Linked DNA regions of Homo sapiens: regions 1, 2, 3 and 4 are each linked to region 5. Evidence: promoter capture Hi-C in 16 types of primary human blood cells and fetal thymus (Javierre and others, 2016). All regions are on one chromosome and are shown on one strand. The core of a region is centred on a gene start or on the middle of the fragment in contact, and the rest is flanking DNA. Distances in the headings are between cores, read along the strand shown. Region 1 overlaps UST (uronyl 2-sulfotransferase). Region 2 overlaps UST (uronyl 2-sulfotransferase). Region 3 has its middle 57 kb from the start of UST-AS2. Region 4 overlaps UST (uronyl 2-sulfotransferase). Region 5 holds the start of UST (uronyl 2-sulfotransferase).

What was found. The method cuts DNA at HindIII sites, captures the fragments that hold promoters and counts their contacts. A CHiCAGO score of 5 or more calls a contact.
Region 1: a fragment that was not itself captured here is called in contact with the fragment with the promoter of UST in region 5 in 1 of 17 cell types (total B cells); the score reaches 5.7 in total B cells.
Region 2: a fragment that was not itself captured here is called in contact with the fragment with the promoter of UST in region 5 in 4 of 17 cell types (total B cells, naive B cells, M2 macrophages and 1 more); the score reaches 7.5 in total B cells.
Region 3: a contact is called between a fragment that was not itself captured here and the fragment with the promoter of UST in region 5, in 1 of 17 cell types (total B cells). The highest score is 6.1, in total B cells.
Region 4: a fragment that was not itself captured here is called in contact with the fragment with the promoter of UST in region 5 in 1 of 17 cell types (naive B cells); the score reaches 7.2 in naive B cells.

Annotation. Positions count from the first base shown.
Region 1 is chr6:149,066,985-149,071,565 of GRCh38, reverse strand. The region is part of intron 7 of UST (uronyl 2-sulfotransferase); the gene reads right to left. Among named protein-coding and RNA genes, the nearest start is that of UST-AS2, 37 kb to the right of the region's middle. The HindIII fragment of the contact is 7,123 bases long and covers 1-4,581 here.
Region 2 is chr6:149,016,577-149,021,254 of GRCh38, reverse strand. It overlaps UST (uronyl 2-sulfotransferase), which reads right to left. Exons shown (of 8, transcript NM_005715.3): 6 at 2,019-2,116. Among named protein-coding and RNA genes, the nearest start is that of UST-AS2, 14 kb to the left of the region's middle. The HindIII fragment of the contact is 2,434 bases long and covers 1,790-4,223 here.
Region 3 is chr6:149,088,085-149,092,227 of GRCh38, reverse strand. No RefSeq gene overlaps it. Among named protein-coding and RNA genes, the nearest start is that of UST-AS2, 57 kb to the right of the region's middle. The HindIII fragment of the contact is 154 bases long and covers 2,201-2,354 here.
Region 4 is chr6:149,051,756-149,056,041 of GRCh38, reverse strand. All of the region lies in intron 7 of UST (uronyl 2-sulfotransferase), which reads right to left. Among named protein-coding and RNA genes, the nearest start is that of UST-AS2, 21 kb to the right of the region's middle. RefSeq lists an enhancer at 1,508-1,627. The HindIII fragment of the contact is 1,155 bases long and covers 2,160-3,314 here.
Region 5 is chr6:148,745,689-148,750,090 of GRCh38, reverse strand. UST (uronyl 2-sulfotransferase) reads right to left here and starts at 3,061. Exons shown (of 8, transcript NM_005715.3): 1 at 2,414-3,061. The coding sequence starts at 2,660. RefSeq lists enhancers at 923-1,422, 1,423-1,924, 3,233-3,312, 3,373-3,432 and silencers at 2,103-2,272, 2,573-2,662. The HindIII fragment of the contact is 11,485 bases long and covers 1-4,402 here.

The sequences.
Region 1 (4,581 bases), core at 37-2,536, 320 kb before region 5:
CCAAATCCAAGGTTGACATATAGAAGTTTTTAATTGTAATGGAGACCATTTTATCTGTTTTCTTCTTATTGCCTGTCTTTTGGTGTCATATTAAAGAAGCCATTGCCAAATCCAAGGTCATGAAGATTTGCCCTCACATTTTCTTTTATAATCTTGCTTTTGACTAAAATTTTTGTCAACAAATTTGAATAGGTATATAATTTACTAAATACAGTTCCAAATGGCTATTTCCAAAATCAGACTCATCTGAAAGGACATAGACTTCCCAATTTTTAGGATATTTGAGGTACCTTCTGAAGCCTTCAGTAGCAATTCTAAAGAAGGAATTTGAAAAATTCTCTATGTAGAGGCTAAGAAGGGTAGTGGGGGATTGGGGACAGGTGGGGATGGTTCATAGGTACAAAAAAAATTGAAAAATGAATAAGACCTATTATTTGATAGCACAACAGGGTGACTATAGCCAATAATAATTTAATTGTACATTTAAAAATAACTAAAAGAGCCGGGTATGGTGGCTCATGCCTGTAATCCCAGCACTTTGGGAGGACGAGGCAGGTGGATCACGAGGCCAAGAGATCGAGACCATCCAGGCCAACATGGTGAAACCCTGTCTCTACTAAAAATACACAAATTAGCTGGGCGTGGTGGCATGCACCTGTAGTCCCAGCTACTCGGGAGCCTGAGGCAGGAGAATTGCTTGAACCCGGGAGGCAGAGGTTGCAGTGAGCTGAGATTGCGCCACTGCACTCCAGCCTGGCGACAGAGCGAGACTCTGTCTAAAATTAATAATAATAATAATAAAATAACTAAAAGAGCATAACTGGATTGTTTGTAATGCAAAGGATAAATGCTTGAGGGGATGGATACCCCATTCTCCATGATGAGATTATTATGCATTGCATGCCTGTATCAAAACATCTCATGTACCCCATTAGGTATTAATTAAAATAAAAAATAAATAAATTCTCTATGTGGCCAACAGCCTCATTGAATAAGGGTATTACTTTTCAAACTGACTCTTTTGAAAGTCCTTTGCCAGGTTGGGTCCTTTGCACAGGGGAGCCTAGATCCTTGTAAATAGATAACATGGTCTTCATTGAAATTAAAAACATAACACACATTGAACACTCTAGAATTTCTGTTAAATAACTTGGCATAGACTCTTCTGAAATGGGTTCCTAACAGAACATTTTATAATATCTGTCTTCTCTGAAGATATGAACTCTAGCTAATCTGGGGCGGGTCATTGTTCACAGGTCTTAGGTGTTCCTTTTTGTTTTTTAAAACAGAGCTAAAAAATCTTATGAAAGACAGACAAGAAATAAAGAGTTTTAAGTCAAACATTGAGAGGCAGAGGAAAAATAATTCTCTCATTGAAAGCCTCCTTCAATCCCTTCCTCTTAGAGCACTATACATTGTGTAGGGTTTTGTTATCTGATACACAAAAAAGTAAGACTCCTGTGATTTAAAATAAATTCATTACTTAAATTATTTGGCCCAACCTGGCAAAGGATCCAAGGGGATAAGCAAAAGGGAGCCTAGATCCTTGTAAAGAAGTAATTTGGAAATCTGTTCTATTTCACAGCCTCAAAGCTCTTTGTCGTAAGGTTGAAACAGTAATTTCCTAAAAACAATGGACAGCAAGTGTAATCATATAAATACCTTGACTACAAAACTATCTGAGAAATACCAATCACATTTTACTAGTCTTCAATCACTTGCAAAATGTTGGTCTATATAATGGATTGAGTTGATTTGCTATATAAATGGTTATTAATTTCAGGCCAGAAAAACTTTGGGAATATTCTTTAAAGTTACAGCATAATGGGTTTATACATTTCTTTCTTTGATTACGATTAGGTGACTGGGTCAACTGCCATAAGGTTACTCCTAGTTCATGACAATAAAACTCTCTTCCCTGAATGCCTTCCTCTATGGTTAGGATGGGGGAGTTGGTGGATGGGCAGAGCAGGTAAATAACTCTGTCAAAAGTGACATTATATCCTTCCGAATAGACATTTCTCAAAATAAGACATACAAATGGCCAAGAGGTATATGAAAAAACTCAACATGCTAATCATCAAGGAAATGCAAATCAAAACCACAATGAGCTATCATCTTACTCCAGTTAGAATAGCTATTATTAAAAGCCAATAAATAACAGATGCTGGTGAGGATGTGGAGAAAAGGGAACTCTTATACACTGTTGGTGGGAATGCCAATTAGAACAGCCACTATGGTAAACAGTATGGAGAGTTCTCAAAAAACTAAAAATAGAACTACCATGATCCAGCAACCCTTCTACTATGTATCTATCCAAAGGAAATGAAATCAACATATCAAAGGGATACCTGCACTTGCATGCTCACGTGTTTACTGTAGTAATATTCGCAGTGGTAAAGATATGGAATCAACCTGTGTCCATCAATGAATGAATGAAGAAAATGTGGTATTATACACAATGGAATACTATTTGGCCATAAAAAAGAAAGAAATCATGTCATTTGCATCAACATGGATGGAACTGGAGGTCATCATGTTAAATGAAATAATCTAGGCACAGAAAGACAAAGATCGTGTATTTTCACTCATATATGGGAGCTAAAGAAGTTGACCACAAGGAGGGAGTAGGATGATACATACCAGAGGCTGGGAAGGATGTCTGGGTTGGAGAGCGGGCTGAAGAGAGGTTGGTTAATGGGTACAAATGTACAGTTATATAGAAGATGTAAGTTCTCATGCTCCATAGCAGAGTAGGGTGACTATAGTTAGCAACAATGTATTGTATGTTTCAAAGTAGCTAGAAAAAAAAATTCAAATGTTCCTAACACATAGAAATGATAAATACTCAAGGTGATGGATACCCTAAACACCCTGATTTGATCATTGCACATTCTATGCATGGAAAAAAATATCATACATATCCCATAAATATGTAAAATATTATACATCAATAAAATGTGATATTGTGTCCTTCAAGTACAAGTGAAAAGAACCAGGACATATTTGCACGATTAGTTAACTGATATGGTGCGAGATGGTGACAGTCCTGGCTGAGCCTAATGCTTTGTGGTATATTTTTATAGTAACAGCTACAGTTAATGGGAACTAATGTGTAGCAAGCACTGAGCTAAGCACTTGTACACACAATCATACTTAATCCTCACAATAACCCCTTGATGGAAGAGCCATTTTATACATGAGGAAACTGAGGCCAAGGCTATAACTCATTCAAGGTCATGCAGCCAGAAAGTGGCAGAGGTAGGAGGCTCCTCATGACAATCAGCTGCTGTGCTTTTGCTGTGTTGTTTCTTGGTGTGGACAGGTGAGAGGGCTATTACTGCTTCTCACACCTTTCTTCACAGTGTGGTAGAGCATAATGGTCAATGTCCAGGCCTAGAGCCTACTACTCCTCCTGCTGACTGAGGCACCCAAACTTAACAACCGATCTCACAGGAAACTGGCAGGTGTTTTGGAGGGAATGGCTAATGGCTTTATAGTTTGGGAGGAGAAAAGGGCCGATTAAAAAAAAATTGGGCACGATCATCTCTGGGTCCAATACTCAGAGTCAGTGATGAAAACCACCCCAACAACCACTATTTGCAGAGTTCCACCTGAGAGGTAAAACTGCGTCCTGGTGGTTTATTTAGATTAAACTTGTAATTTTGTGTTTCCAGTAGGAAACATTCTATCCCAGGCAGAAATTGACCTAGTATTTACCATGTTCGGAAAACGACAGACTTCTGGTGATAACCAGCATCTAAAATCCCAGTGCACTCCATCGACTCTATGACTGGAAAGTACTGGCTCTTATGATTTCACTCAGAGCCCCCTACATTGACATATCTTATCCAACTTTTATACAGTAATGAGAGGTCTTTAATAAGATTGATATTTGATAAGATCCCAGGTAGCCTTTCCAACCAAATTTTAATTGCATGTCACCTTACCAGCCTGACAAAAGTGCTTTGGCTATTTGATAGTGCTAGTCAGAACATGAGGAGGCCCAGCCCTATGTTTGCTAGAACACTCCACAGAGAGGACAGACTTTTAAGACAAGAGGGAAGGGGGACTTTTTCATGTTTGGCTACAAGGCAAGAGCTTTAAAAGATCCTTTCTTGAATAGTTAAGGATCCAGGGAGGGTGACCGCCAAATATGGCAACTTGGTATGGCGATATTTCAAATTGAAGGCCATTGGAGACCAGTACATCCTGGATGAAGCTGTTCTCTGAAGTTCCCTTATCTACCTAGAAATTGGACCTGCCAAAGAGGAACAAAATTGCCTTCAGTCACCTCCCCTAAAATTTCATTAATCAGAGAAGATCAAAACTCATGTCACAGAGGAAGGGACTGAAGATTAAACACCACACTCAGAGCTCAGATGAACGTTGTCCCAAACTATTGCCTGTTCTTGGGTCCCATTCAGTTCCCAAAGAGAATTATTTACCTTCCATTGTCTGAGCATTGGGCCCATTCATTCCCCTTAAATATCATTTACTACTCTTCAAAATTGCCACATTTAACCTCCATTTCCCCTTTCCCTATGAAGAAAGGTATAGAAAAAAGCTGGACCTCCCTGG
Region 2 (4,678 bases), core at 1,757-4,256, 270 kb before region 5:
TACCCCCTCTACCTCCCACCTTCACTTGCATAAGTCCAAATCCTGTTTCCCTCAAGGACCAGCCCAGATGTAGCCCCATCCAGGGCCTTCCCAGTCCTTCCAACTGGTGTCCTGCCCTGCTCACCATTCCTTCTCTGTCACTTTCATCCATGCTTCATGCCAAGCCCAGGGCCTTGAATTCAGAGGCCCTGCCTAAGTATTGTGGACGAATGAATGCAGGCACAAGCAGTTAGGTTCTAACAAATACTAATCAAGGGGTGAGTAGAATGGTTTTTTAATAGGAGGACCAAACTGAACCAATTAAATGAATTTAGGAGTTTTGAAATATGAAACTTACCGACATAGTATTTATGTAGAACTCAAAAGAGCTGTCAGGTCATGCCTATTAATCATCTTATTCTTTGGAAGAGTTAAAGAGGAATCTTTGGATTTTTGTTTTGTTTTATTTTGTTTGTCTAGATTGCAGAAGGAAAACAGCCTAATTTGTAAAAATCAGAGAGCTGATTTGTAGGCCAGCTCTCTGAACTGACACTAAGGCGAGTGAGAAAAGCCCGGGAGTGGGGCTCCAGGCCTGGCTGTCATTTATCATTTGGGGGAATTGGGCAAGCCAGGGTTCTCTTTTGAAAAATGGTAAAAATCACCCTTACCTAGTTCAAAGCATTGTTGTAAAGACTGTGCAAGGTGATATGATGAAAGAGTTATAAAAATCATTGTGTGTGTATCAAGGTGTGGTGTCATGAGTCACCTCTCCAAGATTAGAAAATTCAAAAATCTGAAAAATACTACACGATTTAAAAAATACTTTAGGGAGTTCAAATCATGTTTCCTGTTATAAAGATATTCACTGTGATCAGCAAGTGAGTCATCCAGCCCCAAATCTTCCCAATACCTGAAGCACTAAATGTTAACCAGGAGGTATTTGTTATTGAGGCAAGGGTCGGGGGCAGGGGAGAGGCCACCTGGACTCAGGGGGCTTATGGTGAAGTCAAAAACCAACACTCCTAGTTCTATAATTTGGACTATAAGCAAACTCTTTTGTTATGGCAAATGAAACAAGACAGGAATAACAACAATACGCCTAAAAACGAAGCAGAAATCATAGCATAAGCAAAAAGGTACAATGAATGCGTTGCCGGTGTAGAAGTAGCAGTTCTCCTTTGGCCTTTTCAGAAACACAAGGACCCTCTAGTTAATGTTTCCTTTGGGGAATAATGTCACTTCTGATAGCAGGGGTTGATTTCCTACCAAGCAAATATAATGCTTCATTGTTGCTGCCATTTCTTCTCCAGGCTATGACATTTGTCTAGCACAGTAGATTTCAACTATAGCTACGCCAGAAGCATCTGGGGAGGCTGCTACACACGAGACTATGATTGGGTGGGGGTTCTTAACAAGTATACAGGGGTGCTGATGCAGGACCTGGGCAGATCACACCCTGGGGGTCCTGACTATCTGAGTAAGTCACTCTCTAAAGAAGGTTGTGCCTTCAAGTAAGGTTGACAGGTGATCATTATAAAACACTTTCTTCTCTGCCTACTAAGTATATCCACTATGGGATTGAGGTGTGGGCTTCCAGTGTCTCAGACCCAGTGACACATGCTACGAGGGCAGGTTGTTGGTTAAGTCAGTCACTGTACAGGAGCAGGCTGGGTGTTCGCTCCTGGTCTTCACGATCACATTTTATGTGACATTTTGTCATTTTATCCAAAGAGAAAGACAAACAACATGGGATGAGTAGTGACAAGTATGTTTTAGGTATAAACAAGGGTTTGGTTCCAGTTACAAAGCTTTATATGGTGGTCTCCTGAGGCCTCTACAGACCCTGATTTTTAAATTTCATTATTTATAGGACATTTGGAGTCTCAAATATTATCTTGAAAGATTAATAGTAAACAGGAACTGAATTCCAGAAGGTTGAGAGACTAGGGATACAAAAGATTCCCACCGAGTACCAGGCTGGTGGGGTTCTTGCCCTTGTTGTGCGTACGTGCATGCCATGACCCTGCTTTAGCCCTTACCTGCATCTGGGATGCTGTCCACAAAAGTACGGAATGATGTAAAATAACCTGGGGTTGGAGCACTCGGGATAGTTTTCAAGAATACACTCATTGATATCCTAGAAGAGAAAATACAGCAGTCAGATGTCTTGTAGTCTCTGCAAGGCTCTATCAAATGCCACACAGTTTAAGTAAAATTCATGATTGAATTACACAGGCACGCCTTGAGAAGATGAAGAGAATTCACAGATTTCATGAGAAAACTTATTTTTTGCCTCCCAGCATCCTGCTCCACTGGCCAGGCACACACAGGGCTGGGCCATTTTAGAGAGTGCATGCTCTGTTGAGTAAACTGCATCTCTGCACTTCCTGGTGGCTCCGAGTCTTAAGTTTGGTCACAGGCCTTGGGAGAACAGTGGTACCCACTGTGCTTCGTGGTGGCGCCACCAGTTGCCAGCCAATTAGTAGGTATACAGTTGGCAATTAATAAATGTTTGTTGCATGAATTTAGGGCTTCTCTGTGTATCCATGCATCCAACAACTAAGTACCTACAATAGTCTCATAAGAGTTTGCAAATTTTAGAGGAGCTGTAAAATCACTTCTAACACTATATTAGCTTAAAAAGTAGCAGGATGTTTATATACAGACACCCTCTCACTTTCAAAGGCAACAGTTGTGACGTCCAGGTTTTCCATTTCTCTTATATGAGGTTGGACATGGTGTTTCTGAGGGCGTTACCAGAGCTTGAAATGGCTTGGTGGGGGTAAGCAGAAGGGCTCAAAACCAACTTTTATCAAGGTAGATCATATTAGAGATTCTAAATAAGACATGCCTCATTCTCAGGTATTTCTAAGGAGAAAAGATAACTCAATCTACAAATAAACCAAACAGCTGTAGGATGTTTTTCCAGAGACTATACTGGCAAGGCAGATTAAGACTGGACACAACTCCCAAATATGGTTGATGAAATTATGAGTCGGTAGAAGCTACTGTATCTGATATACATGTGTGGGTGTAGGTGTTTAGGTGTGGGTGTTTAGCTAGTAACAATTTTTTTAGTTCAAATTGGGAATGAGAGAAATATAATTTATGCTTTTTCTTAAAAACAATAATCCCCTCATACTTCTTCAGTTTATATGCCAATTAAGTAAATTACACAATTACAATAACAAATTCAACGGAAATAAACAGAATCTGCAAAAAACACAATTGAGAGTACTCAAGCACTTGAGTTTACCATGAGAGGCGGAGGTGCAGTTTCCAGGGAGGAACATATGAGAAGTGAATAGGGGGGTGCATATGTCTGTCCAGCCATGTGGTGAGGGTGATTAAGAGCATCTCATTGTGTATGAAAACCCATTAAAATGCAAGACACTAGACCTGAAATACCTTTCTAAGAAGAGTTTGACACTGACAGATGTGTGTGTGTGTGTGTGTGTGTGTGTGTGTGTGTGTGTATATATGGATATTCATTGCTGCAATGAGTTTATTTATTACAACAAAATATGGCAGAATTTACATGTTCACGAACGGGGGATTGGTTTTAAGAGAAATTATGGTACATTCACACACTGAAATACTGGATACCTGGAAAAAATGAGAAGGATCTGTGTGTGCTATCCTGAAAAGTCTTGGATAAATTTTCAAGTGAATGAAAGTATAGACTACAGGACAATATAAACATGTAGGACAATATAAAAATCAACATGTTTACATAAACACAAAAGGATCTGGAAGGAGACACAGCACACGATTGAAAGCAGTTTTTTCTGGTGGTTGGCATAAAGGAAGATGAGAATATACTGAATTTTTCCTTATTCCTTTTTTGAAGTGTTAGCTTTTATTACAATGTACGCATCTTACTTTTTTTGTTTTTTTTTTTGAGACAGAGTCTTGCTGTCCCCCAGGCTGGACTGCAGTGGCGTGATCTCGGCTCACTGGAAGCTCCACCTCCCGGGTTCACGCCATTCTCCTGCCTCAGCCTCCCGAGTAGCTGGGACTACAGGTGCCCGCCACCACACCCGGCTAATTTTTTGTATTTTTAGTAGAGATGGGGTTTCACCGTGTTAGCCACGATAGTCTCCATCTCCTGACCTCATGATCCGCCCGCCTCGGCCTCCCAAAGAGCTGGGATTACAGGCGTGAGCCACTGTGCCCGGCTGCATCTTACATTTATTGTGAGAAAACTGTACAGAGATTTACACACTGTGAAACAAACCAAAGCTTGTGCGGGCGGGTGCCTGTGCTTTGCCTTGAGGATGCTCTGAGCCCCCTGCCCTGCTCACATTTGAGGGTGTCCTCTGGTAGTTGGCCTCCCCTTGGAACCTGAGCCTTTAGTCCGAGGGACCCAATAACCCTGGTGGCCTCCCTCTGCAGCAGTGGCAACAGGGAGGGGGCCAGGAGCTGGGTGAGAAGCAGAGCCTAGGGTGATTCTGGCCAGGACAGTGTTCATCTGCTGAGGTCGAGATTTCACAAAGAAGGACGGAGTAAAGTGATGGGGAACATCCAAAGAACTGTCACATACGCAGTCAGCCCCCCAGAGTCCTGCATTAACAGGAGGAGCAGGGCATCAGAGACCGCCAGAGCCTCCTACAGAGGCTCTCATGGCACCTGCTGCTTCTCCAGAGCTGCCCTTGAGCAAGTACTTGTGTGCTTATTTGTTTAGGTTGTAGGTCCCTCA
Region 3 (4,143 bases), core at 1,028-3,527, 340 kb before region 5:
CTGCCTTGGCCTCCCAATGTGCTGAGATTACAGGCGTGAGCGAACATGCATTGCCTGTCTTTGTTTATTCTCTATTCCCTACTTGCCCTCCCCCAAACCTTGAATCCAAAGAAGCAGGAACCAAAGGGCGTAGAGGCCACAAAAAGATAAAGCTCTCTAGAAAACACAAGAACCCTAAGATGCATCTTGAGGTTCCTCAGGCTACGGAACTGGAATTCGTGGTGGGGCAGAAGCCCATGTGGCCTGGCTCTCCAAGGGGCCAGAGCCCCTTGATGGCTTCTGAGTAAGCCATGGCTGAAAGCTAAGTTCTCAGTGAGGTCTTGAAGGCCTGAACAATATTTATTTTATTTTATTTTACTATTTTTTTTGAGATGGGGTCTCTCTATGTTGCTCAGGGTGGTCCTGAACTCCTGGGCTCAAGCTCTCCTCCCACCTCAGCCTCCCAAGTAGCTGGGACCACTGATGTGAGCCGTTGCACCTGAAATTTTATTTAAAGTGTTTTTATTTTAAACTTTAAGCCTTAAAAGAAAGAATGAAGCTGAAAATTCCATAAACATGACCATAATCAAAATTACAGCTTATTGTATTAGTGCTATGAACTTTCTCAAATGTATAGTTTTCTTTGGTCTTTCTTTACCATAGTCTTGTCAAAAGAAAACACTAGTATTAGTCATATATTCCTATTGGGAAACTGAGGCATAAAAGATGAACAATAAAGCCATGGTTTCGAGCCCGGGTCTCCTGACAGACAGTCCAGGGGGTTTTCCTAAGGAGATGCTGGGAAAAGCCTTTGTTCTCAGAGCTCTATTTTCCTCTCAGATGAGGTAGCTGCAGAGTTCAATTTGAATTCTGAGCAAATTAATATTTGGAATAGTATCTCAGCATATCCCAAGGAGGAGGTTAAATCATTTTGTCCCTAACTTAATGTCCGACTCTCAAACCCAGAGCCTTAGCTTTTTCCTTAAAAACCTGCCTGTCATTTGCCTGCAGGAGGGAAACAGGGAGGGCTGTGATCAAACCTAACTCTCTTTACATTTGCAGCCGCATGTTACACTCTGATATCAATCTTGCAGCTGGAAAGGTCTATATAAGAAATAGCCACGGCCAAATTCTCTGTTTTTTGGCAAACCTTACTCCATCTGTCTTGATAGCCGACAGGCAAATCAGTTTTATTCTAAATCAAAATGATGGGTGTCCTAGCAGTTCCTGGCCAGGCCAAGGAGAACTGAGGATGGGAGGATGCAGAGGGCCCCTCTCCCCCTTAACTCTCCTCTTCAGGTATCTTCTTTAGCCAGGTGAGATCAGGTTTAAATTAGACTCTCTAACAGGGAGGAAGAGGACAAGACTCCACAAAACCCAGGCCTGAGCAGAGTTTGTGATTCAAAAGAGGTGAGCCTTCACACTGGGGAGCAGGGTACTGAGAGTGAGGCCTTCTCTCTCCCCATGTCTCCAAACACCACACATCTAGTCTTGACGGCCAAAAATCCTCACCAGAAGAAAGTGCTAGCATTTATTATGCCTTAATGTATCTGTCTCAGTTCCTTCTCACAATTACCTGTGAAGTACATATGCCTCTTTCACAGAAGACAGATCCTAGGTCTCAGGAACCTGAAGTTACCTGCCCTCGTTAATAGGTGGCAGGATTGATATTTGAACTGTGTTACTACAAAGCCCGTATTCTTCTCCACTCTTCCATCCCCTGGTTCCCCAAAGCCTGCCTGTGAGAAAAGAACAATGAATGACTGTTTTCTTAAATACAAAATCACATCTTTTTAAATTTGGAGATTATGGTCTTAGTTTTTTAATGTGAAAATGTCTATTCTTTGCCCCAAATCATGGTGACGGTAGATAGTAATTCCCTTCTCTCCTCTTCCTTTTTTTGCTTCATATTTTTACTTGACCAATGGGGAAAGGAAGCTGACAGTCCTATTTTGGTTCCATGTTTCTATTAATTTTTTTTTCTTGGTTCATAAATCAAAAGTCTGGGACCCCTGCTTTACACAGAGTAACTCATCACAGCGAAAGAATAGCATAGCGACTGGAACGCAGGGCCGCAGCCGTGTCCTAGGTAACATGCTGATCATTCGATTTAGGATTTACTAACTGACACTGTACAATTGGTTCGAGTTTGGTGATAAGCTTTAAGTACGACTACTAGGGACTTCTTAGTCAAAGGTCATCTCTTCTCTAATCTGAAGCTTCTTCTTCCTTTAAGATTCCCACTTTCCTTCCTGGTTGTGCCCGTATATCTGGGTTCTAGTTTCTTAACTCAATAGAATGTGTTAATCAGCTAATATTCTTCTGAACTCATTTTTATTCTGTTCTATACACAGTTATTTTTCTAGGTGGAAGCTTGAACATATTTTTTCTATATTAAATAGTCTCATGATTTTTACAAATGGTATGAAATTGCTACAGGCCATATTAAATATTACAATGCCCTTAAACTTGAACAAAGCCAGTCTGGGACAGACAGTAAGTCCACAGCCTGACAGGCAGCACCCCCTTGCTGACTGTACATTCCGTTGCGTTAATCAGCCGTGGGACAGAGCCACTGCTGATGCCGCTCCTCTTTTGAACACCGTCACCTGTGGGCTCAGGGCAGCTGCAGACCCTCCAGTCCCGGGAGCCACATCTTCAGACACAGCTCTGTGTCTGCGCCATACCAGTTTCAGGGCCTCCGGAGTGTCTCTCAGCTCTAAGTCCTGCAATTTCCTTTATGGATGCAGTAAATCATTCCACACACCATGGAGCAGAGGAACAGTCTGAATTATTAGACCTACCTGCTTGGCTCCTTTAGAGGGGGATTCTTATATTGAATGATTTTCCCTCTTCACTTATTATTATTTTTTAGATTTTTTAAATGTTTTTTTGAGACGGAGTCGCCCTCTGTCGCCCAGGCTGGAGTGCAATGGCGCGATCTCGGCTCACTGCAACCTCCGCCTACTGGGTTAAGTGATTCTCCTGCCTCAGCCTCCCAGAGTAGCTGGGACTACAGGGGCACACCACCACACTCAGCTAATTATTTTTGTATTTTTTAGTAGAGATGAGGTTTCACCACGTTGGCCAGGCTGGTCTCGAACTCTTGACCTCAGGTGATCCTCTCGCCTTGGTCTCCCAAAGTGCTGGGATTACAGGCGTGAGCCATGTGAAATGTTTACATAAAACACCCATAGAGCGTTCCTTAGAAGCTGACCAGGGGGATTCTGGTCATGTTGGGCCACTAGTGTTGGTTTCCCAGAGGTGGCAAGTCTCTGTCACTTTCTTTCTCTATCTCTCCTGTTTACTCTGCCCTCCTGTTTCTCACTCCAAGTTCTCCGCCTTCCTTTGCTCAGTGAAAAAGAATTAGTTCACTGCATTCATTCAGCCACTCACCCATTGGCTCATTTGTTCACTCCTTCATTCTGAGTGCTGCATTTAAGTGCCGTGGACACTGCAGTGAACAAGACAAGGTGTTGCCCTCACAGAGGGTGTGGTCTGGGGGGTGAGACAATGGTTAAATGAGCATTTACAATGTAGCGTGGTGAGCGCTACCCTTGGGGGGAGCACCAAGGGGCTTCTGGAGGCACTGAAGCAACAGAGATGACGCAAAGCGGCTCAAGACCTGAGAAAGCGCTGTTCAAGTGGCAGCTGCAGCTTGTTCACCCTCAGCCTGGGCTCCCTGGGGCAACACAGACCCAAGGTGAGCTGAAATTGTACCCGCAGTTCTTCTTGAGCAAGAAAGGGTTTTCCTGGTGGAATTCCACAACTGAGTTGGAAAAATAAAGATTAAGATACAAGCGTGTGCCGAGGGACAGAGAACGTGACTTCTGTGAAGTGGAGAGAAGAGAGCTATGCTGCACAAAGTGGAAAGGAAACTTTGTCACCGTTAAATAAATGTAACCAGAACAGACTCAAGGAGGGCTCTGAAGGGTGGAGTCCACTGAAGTTGTGTACAATTCATTATGGAAGCGAGACTCGAATAATAGCTGACTTAGTTTAATTTATATAGGTGAATCAATAATTTGCCTGAGAGATCCAATTTTGGGTTTAAATGATCTGAATAGTCTTGCCCTAAAATCAAGCTCTGTCCAGGAGCCCTAGTGATTGAGGCAGTGGAACAGCTCTGGGCTAAACTGGTTGGGTCAGCTCTATCCACGCCTT
Region 4 (4,286 bases), core at 1,488-3,987, 310 kb before region 5:
ATATTAAAACTTGCAAATGCAGCCTGGGAAAAAAATTAAAACATTTTAATTTTTCTGACATGAGAGAAGAAACAGAGAAGAGCACTGACATGCATTAGGTTTTAGGTCAACAACAGGCTATAAATGAAGGTAGTTGCGATGACTTCTTGAGCTGAACTTTCATGGCCAATGGCTGTGAGAAACTGCAGAAGCTTCTGATGTCAGATGGAAGAGAAGGGACTGATTGTCAGGTTAGACTTTTGATGCAGCACAAGCATGAAATTGTGGTGCAATGCACTGACCATTAACCACCAGCCTTCCCCTTTGATAAGACATGGGTGGGAGTGATAAAGGGGAAATGAAAAAGAAACAATCAGCCAATGCTAGAAAGGCCATTATGTGAATTAGAAGCAGGTAAGAAAGAGGTGCTAGTGTTACTAAGAAACGTGCTCAAAGGTATCATTAGGTTCCGTTAGGATTGGTTCACTTTGGAAACTGCATTAGAGACAGGTGGGGGAGGGGACAGGAGAAACGGGTAACTTGAATGACATTCAAAGCATTCTTAAAAAGTGTGTTCAATGAATGGAAAATCAAAGATGTTTGAAAGAGAAAAGTCAACAAATGGAAAAGCTGTAACCCATTCCATTTTAGTTTAGTTTTATTGGGGCATGAAATGAAATTTCATAATGTTCTAAAAACAACAACTTAACTGCATAAAACTGAATAAGTGAACCGGCATTAAATCCATACTGTATTTTTTAAAATCTCATTTTGATATAATAATAGTAACTGGTTAGTTAGGTCATAGTCCTCTTCCTCAAGTCACGCACAGTTAAAGAAATATTTCTAAAAATTTCTAATTGCTCCTACATTCTAGCAAAACCATACATCGACTTGCTGGTTGATTTATGACTTTCTAGTAACCTTTACTCTCAAATGGCTTCTACCAAATGATTTATTTACTTGGTCTATGCTGAGGTAACCTCCTGGCTGGGCTGACTGCCGTCCTTTCAGCTCGAAGTGTAAAGGATTGAGTCCCCTCACTAAGACATTTCTTGAGTTTCTGTGAGAGCTGTGGGTTCTCATGCGATAAACCATGAGTCTTAGGTTCAATTTTGAAATGTCTCTCTTTCAGATTGCTTGAGCCGGGGAGGTCTAGGCTGCAGTGAGCTGTGACTGCACCACTGTACTCCAGTCTGGGCAACAGAGTGAGACCTTGTCCAAAACAAACAATAAACAAACACCCAGAACAAATAAAAAATGTCTCTCCTTCCTCGTCATTTCTCTTTGGAGAAAAAAGAAAATCTTTGACAATTTCTGACCCACTGAACAATGTAAAGTGGCAAAGTTTCACACTTTTGCCAAAGGCTTCTAATTTCAAGCCTTTTTCTGGTCCACGGTGGTGCTTCACCTCACTCTTGTCTTTCCTGCCCAGTTTCCTCTCTTAGATTACAAACTTAATCTACTAAATGCCTGCCCCCCGACAATAGCAGAGTTTTATAAGATCTGTATAAAGTCATTAGTTTTCCCATTAAGCATCGGTGTCCCCCAACTCCAGCCTGTAAGATGCACACAGTATCTGGAACCACAGAAGATTGCTAAGACAATGTTAGGTGTCTGACACCTTTTAGCTATAAGTGCAAGATGATGTGGTTGAACATCAAAGGCTGTGGAACATGCAACCAGGAATCAGCATATCCTCATTGAAAACTTTTACACCATTTCTACCAAAAAAGATTAAATTCTAATTGAATGCTACTTACTCATCACTTCTTGAGTTTTACATGTGACAATAAAATGAAGGCCTACTGGTTACTGGTTGGCTAGAAGGGAAAGCAAGTGAAAGCTCTTTGGCTCTTCTTTGGGTAGATTTAATTCTACCGCACCCCCCTCCCTTTCTGAACATTTACAAAACCCTCAAGTACTTTTCTTTCCCTCCTTCTCCATTTTTTTCCCACGAGGTCCAAAGTCCCAGGGAGGGAGCTGCTGGGCATGGGGGGATGGGGTGAGAATAGGGTAGGGAACCACAGCTGCTCTCAAATTGTGCTGGTGTCTTGGACAGGGGTGACAGATGGTGGCAGGAGAGCCATTATTCCCACCCTGCCAAGCTCATGACAGCCATTTCACAGAGGTCACGGCCAGGCTCCACCTGACAATACTTGTGCCAATGTTTCTAAGCTTCTGTGACCAACTGTCCAAAAAGGCACTAGATATGAGCCCCAATTCTTGTACTTTTTAGCTGAGAGAATGCTTTGAAGGCTTTTCAACCATCAGGCTTCTGTGCATTCCCTGAGGTATTTAGACCCGGTGCTTCGATAAATTAGTGGTTGCAACTGAGCACATAATTCCTTATATCCACTTAGAATGTTTATGAGATAATTAGTTCTCAATTTCATACAGCACCATCGGTTCACCTCCTGATCAGACAGATACATGAGTGGCTATTTTTTTGGAAGTATGGCAAACATAGTTGAAGTCAGTTGACATTAGGTTATACCTCATAGAGCATATAGTAAATAAGTCATATCCATAATTGTCATAGAAAAAACACACAACACATAAGTTTGGGTTTATAGCCACAAAGAGGAACATAGAAGACAGGGAAAAATATGACCCTGAACATGAGCATGGAATGTTTTCAAACTTATTGATATTCACAGTCTTTATTCATAGCATCTTGATGGGATTCATGAGTAACAAAGGGCTTTGTGGAAATATCTGAAGGCCAATAATTCTTTTTAACAGACTAACAAGACCAAATTACTATTAAATTGATTTCAGTAGTTGGTAACCGTACTTATTTCTGGTAGACTACATATTTCAATAAACAACTTTAAAAACAAATGTCACTGAATGTCAATTCACTATAAATTTAACAGTGAATATGTCATAAAATATTTTTATATCTAAACAACTAAAATAATAATAGGACCCTAAAAAGACTTTTAAAAAGTGTTCATTAATCAAGTTTTGTTCTATATGATAAATGATGTACTCTAAGAATTTCTAAAACTCCAATAGATACTTGCTGTAACTAAACTGGAAAGGGTTCCCATTTTTGCTTTGCTATTTTAGAAAAATAAGGAGTATTCCTTGGATTGTTTGCTTTCTTAAATTCCACTCTCCGATTCATTAAAACCCTTATGAAAACCAAAGTTGCTGACATGACTGAAACAAATGGCTTTACTGTTAACCAGATTGAGTCTTTGCAAGCACTTTATTAAAGCGATTTTAGTAATTCCAACTAGTAAAGTCTTCCCCCACCAACAAAAAAATAAAACAAAGTAACACATTTAGAATATCAATGAACATCACCTCAACAGAACCACTAAGCTTTCCAGAAACACTGTGTTCTTGAGAATTCAGCAGAATAACATTTCATAGAATCCTACTTTTCTAGCTACCCCATCTCCCTCAGATAATCATGTTTTAGATTTTGCCCTTTTCAGAGAGAGAGAGAGAGAGAGAGACCAGTTAAGAGCTTACGAGCACGGGGTTGCAAGTCACCTGGGCCTGGGTTGAATGTTCAATCACTTGAGTGCTGCTAGCGACCAGCTCAGTAACATAGAAGCGTTATGAATCATCTCTAAGTTGGTGGTTTCCTTATCTGTACAATGGACATAATAATAGTATCTTCCTCACAGGGTTGTTCTTAGGATTAAATGAAATAGTACATCTAAAGGACTTAACAAGATTCCTGAGACACAAGAAGCTCCCAATGAGTGTTAAATATAATAACAACAACTATTAATATTATGACTGTTATCCTCAAAATATATTCCCTTGAAACATCAGTATTCTGCCACTGAAATAGAAAAATGCTAATCTCCCCAAATGAAACAATTAATTTCAATTTAGTTGAAACTTAATGTGTTAATGATACTTTATGAAATTACAGACATCAAGACTTTGAGATGCTCTGCTCCTATAAAATTTTAAGGTCTGGTGGTTCAGTGAAAGTAAAGATTCATATCCCTTACAGTATACATGTGCATTTATAGATCAACTTTCCCCACCTATACATTCATTAGGTGCATAAAATTCCAAAGCACTTCTTGATCATGAATACCGTATAATCTATAATTATTTAATTCTGTAAAAATGTCAAAAATATATTTTGGATGTTTCACATATTTTCCCCTCCCTAATAGAGTTCCATTTGGGTAGTACTATCTCTTTTCTATTCATTTTTTATCTTCTACTATATCTTCTTGCCTGTATTAGGTAAATAATAAACATTCAAAAATCATTCATGACTGCAGCATCTGAAACACTTTAATAAAAAAGGAAGAAAAGTAAAGTTTTGT
Region 5 (4,402 bases), core at 1,812-4,311:
GGATGTGTTTACTAACCACAAGTTTTGTTTTGACAGACACTAAAATAAAAGAATGGAGGAAAACAGGGGAAAGTAATTCTGCAGACACAGTGGCCTTATATTATTAAAGGTATATTTTAGACCATCCAAAATACCACAAGCCCACTTTTCCCAAAAATCATTATATTTACGTAACAGGGAACAAATTTGGCCAAGGGTATTCTATTTTCAGTTCACAATGATGTCATTTTGAACCTATCACATCAGTCAGAAATATAATGATCAGCTAGTAACAGGAGCAGCATTCAATCTTTCAGTTCTTCCTAGTTTCCTGAGCAGAAGCTGAGAATTCACCCTTCTACCAACTGACCACCCAAATTTATTAGGCCTCATTGTTTGGAAATATAAAGTGAAAATGTTAATGCAATATATGTTGAAATGTCTTGATTTTATCCTCAGTAGTACCTTTGCTCCTTCCTCCTCCCAGAATTTCCCTTCCTCAAGAAAGGTGTCAGAACCCCAAAACTTTAGGAGCTGGGTGGAGGTTTCATTGACAGTCAGGTGTGGCTTCTAATTCTGCCATGAAACACCAGGCCTATGAAGTCTGAGTACCCTACACGAGGCCAGGTGCTTTGAGGACAATGAGCACAGATGACTTCCATCCTGGTCCATTACACTTTTCCCTACACCCCTGGCCTCCATCTATTACTTAAAAAGAACTTCCACAAGAATTCACTGTCAGATTTAATGGAGAAAGACCCTGAGCCTCAACGCTTGCCTCCCAATGCCTGTTAACAGGGATTGCTGCTGGTGATGAAAATACTGTTAACTTTTGTGGCACTAGCAGGTGTCAGAGAGTGGAGGAAGCTATGAGACTCCACAATACAGAACTTATGAAAAGAAGAGGTTTGATTCCCTAATAAAGGATATATTGCCCCAAATCCTCTATGAAACCAAATGCTATGGAAATCTACTTGGGCCAACTTTTCCTGTAATCTGTAGTTCCCCAAAGTTTATAAAGAAATAAAAGTGTAACTTTTAAAATATGAGGTCTTGTACAAGGTAAAGAATATTATTTTATCCACATCTACATTTCCAAATGCCCTAACACATTTGTAACTTGGCTGATGTGGTTTTGTTTTTGTTTTGCTTTGTTTTGTTTGTTTGTTTTGGGTTTTTTTTTTTTCCTTTTCTTTTCTCTTTTCTCCAAACGGTCTACTATCTAGACCTGTGGCTTCTGCCACGAAGTGACGTTTGGGGTAACTGTGGCAGCCTCCAGCTGGCCCGGGTCATTTGGCCCATTTTCTTTCCAGCACTTCGGTGGCTCTGCTTCCCCGCACTCGCTCTCATCGTGCAGATGCTCAGGCTTATCACTTCGGATGCTTGCAAGAAGCTGGAGCTCTCCCAGCCTTCACCCCCGCACGACCTCTTCTGGCCACAGACTTGGGAGGGATCTGCATCCTCCCTTGGCTCGAACGCGAGTGCCAGCATCGTCCTTGCGACCTGGGCTTGCGCTCGCCTGTCCCTGGCACCCCTGGCTCCCGCAGCCGAGACGAGGGAGCTGCGGGGTCACGCCTTCTCGCTGGAGCGGCTCTTTCCCTCCCGTCAAACCCCTTCCTTACTTCTGCTAAAGACAGGCGGCCTCTCTCCTAATAAACCACACACACACACACACACACACACACACACACACACACACACACACACACACAAGTTTTGACTTGAGCTTGAGACGCACACAGCGCCGAGGATCCTCGGGTTACTGGGGGCGACACTGCTGGCCAGGCTGACCAGCGCCCTCGGGCATCCCCAAACCCCTGGATGCAACCCGTTCCCCGCGCCAGGCTAGCTGCGGGCGGCGGGGTGGGCAGCGGCAGCCAAGGGACAAGCCAGCCCGGGGACAGCGCGGAGCCACTAGGGCCGGCGGGCAGGCGGGGGATCTGCGGGACAGAATTCTCAGAGCGGACGGTGGCAAAGGGCTAAACCCACCCACACTCCCCGGGGCGCGGGACGGGACTGAACTGCGGTCACTAACAATGCAACGAAGAGGACCTTCCCTTCCCTTCGCCACTCCCCGCGCCGCCAGGCCTGAAGATACACACACTCCGGCACACCCCACACACCCATCCACTCCGCCCCAGTCCGGATCCGGGTGGCGGAGGTGGGGCGGGGGGAAGGTGAGCGGTGCCTCGCCCCGGGGTACCTGCCGGCAGCGCAACCCAGCGGCGCCCCCGCCTCGGTGAGGACAGTCGGACGCGCGGGAGGAAGAAGGCGCTCCCGACCGCGGCACAGATGCTCACGGGCTTAGCACCTGGAGAGACCCGGGGCGGCGGCGGCGCGCGGTGGCAGCGCGAGAAGTCCCCGCCGCGACCCTCTCCCCGCCGCACAACTTTGCGCTGTCGGCGCCGCCCTAGCGCCTGCCCAGCTTCCTTACCCAAGTACTGCCGCAGGTCGAGCAGGAAGCGAGGGGGTCCCCCGCTGAGCTGATAGAGGAGGGAGCCCAGGCAGAAGACCAGCAGGGTGGCCATGCAGAAGCCGTAGTCCCGGAGGGAGAAGCGCAGGAAAGGCAGCAGGGGCACCCGACGCTTCCAGCTGCCCAGGCCCGGAGGGGCGCCCCCCATAGGGGCCCCATGGGGCCAGGGATCCGCGCCGCCGCCGGGATGCTGCTGCTTCTTCTTCATCGCCTGCTCCGCTGCCTCCCACAGCCTGCCCGTGCCAGGAAAAGGTCACCCATCCGCCGCGAGGAGGAGAGCCCGGCTGGCCGGCTGCACATGGGGAGGGCCGCGCGGAGGGCAGCCGGGTGGGGGCGGGGAGGGGCCGAAGTTGCCGGGCTCAGGAGACTTTCTTCGGCATGGTCCCCGCCGCCGCGGCCCGAGCGGCCGAGGTGTCCGGCCCCGGTTCGGGGCGCTGCCCGTGACGGGGCGCCGCGCCCGTCCGGCGCCCGCTAGCGTCCCCACGCCCCGCGCCCCGCCGCGCCTCGGGCTCGCTTGCGGCCGCCGGGGCTCGCCTCCAGCGCCAGCGTGGACCCCCCGGCTTTGTGTCTGTAGGTCTCGGCGTGTTTTGTCCCGGTTCAGGCTTCTCTAAAAAACGGCAGGGAGGAACAGGAGGCGGACACCATCCCCTCGCTCCACCTCCTTGACAGGGGTTTTCCTCCTTCTCCTCCCCTTTCTCCCTCCGGCGCTCCGCAGCACTCTCCTCCCTCTCCCCTCCCTCTCCGCTCGGGTCTCGGGATTTCGCTCGGGTGTCACGTTACTGCTTCTGCTGGGGGCGGAGGGGGGGAGGCGGCGATTATTCGCAACAAGGAAGAAAGTTTCTGGGTGTTTTCTTTTTTTTTCCTTCCCCCGTTCTTTACAATCTGGATGCGGTTCCTGCGCCACCAGCGACCTCTTGGGGGCCCCGCTGACTTCCCTCTTGTAAACAGTCACCGGCAGGAAGAAGCACGACTGACTTTACTATTTACATTTTTTTCAGTTCAGAAAGTTGATTCTCCTTATATACCCCGTGCGAGCTGCTTACCCAAGGCTGATAAAAGGTACTAGAATACAGGCTCAAGACTTTGCTGAAATGGGAAAAGAGCAAGCGGTGCGAGTTATGGTCAAACACGCCCCAGAGGGCCAGGCGCAGCGCCTGAACTCCCGGGTAGGGTAGCCGAAGAGGACGCTCTGTTCTTGCTTTTCCTGGTCCTACAACTGCTCCACCTCGCAGTGCCCAGAGAGGCAAGTGGGGGGTGCATAGCGGACTCTAGGAGGTCATTGCCCTGCAGACATGAAGGGGAAAGAGCCCAGTCCGCCTATACGCTGATTTCATTGCTGCCTCTCTTCCCTCCACGGGAAAGCCTCTGGACCTGAAAGAACCTCCTGGGGCAGAAAAGGCTCAATCCTAGACATAGATCCTCTGATGGGGTGGTTGATCCACGGAAGGGCTGCTCTGATCAGCCACACTTTAAGTAAGAATACTATATCACTATTTATAGAAGCTGTAGCACCTGAGGGCTGTGTGACTCACCCGAGGTCCCAAAGCTAGTAGTAGGAGTTGGGTTGGGAGTTGCACTCAAATCTATTTGACCCTCAGACCCACTATACTAACCACTGCACAGCAGTACTTCCCAGCCAGAGCCCTTTTCCTTCACGTCCCATAGGAGGATGAGATTTAATTCATTTAGTTCAGGCCACATTGAGAAATGGAAACCTCAGTTTCTGGTGCCTATCATTTCTGGCTCCCTACTCATTTGTATATTCCAGTAATGAACAATTGGATTTAAGAAGGAACCAGGAGCCAAGAACCTCTATGATTCTAAGACTAGGCTCCTGAAAACCTTCATCAAGTTAGGCATCTGAAGAATATTCTGTGGAAAATTACAAAATATTATCCTAGACAAAGAACTTACTCGTTAAGAATATGTCTTAACCTCAGCTACTCAGGA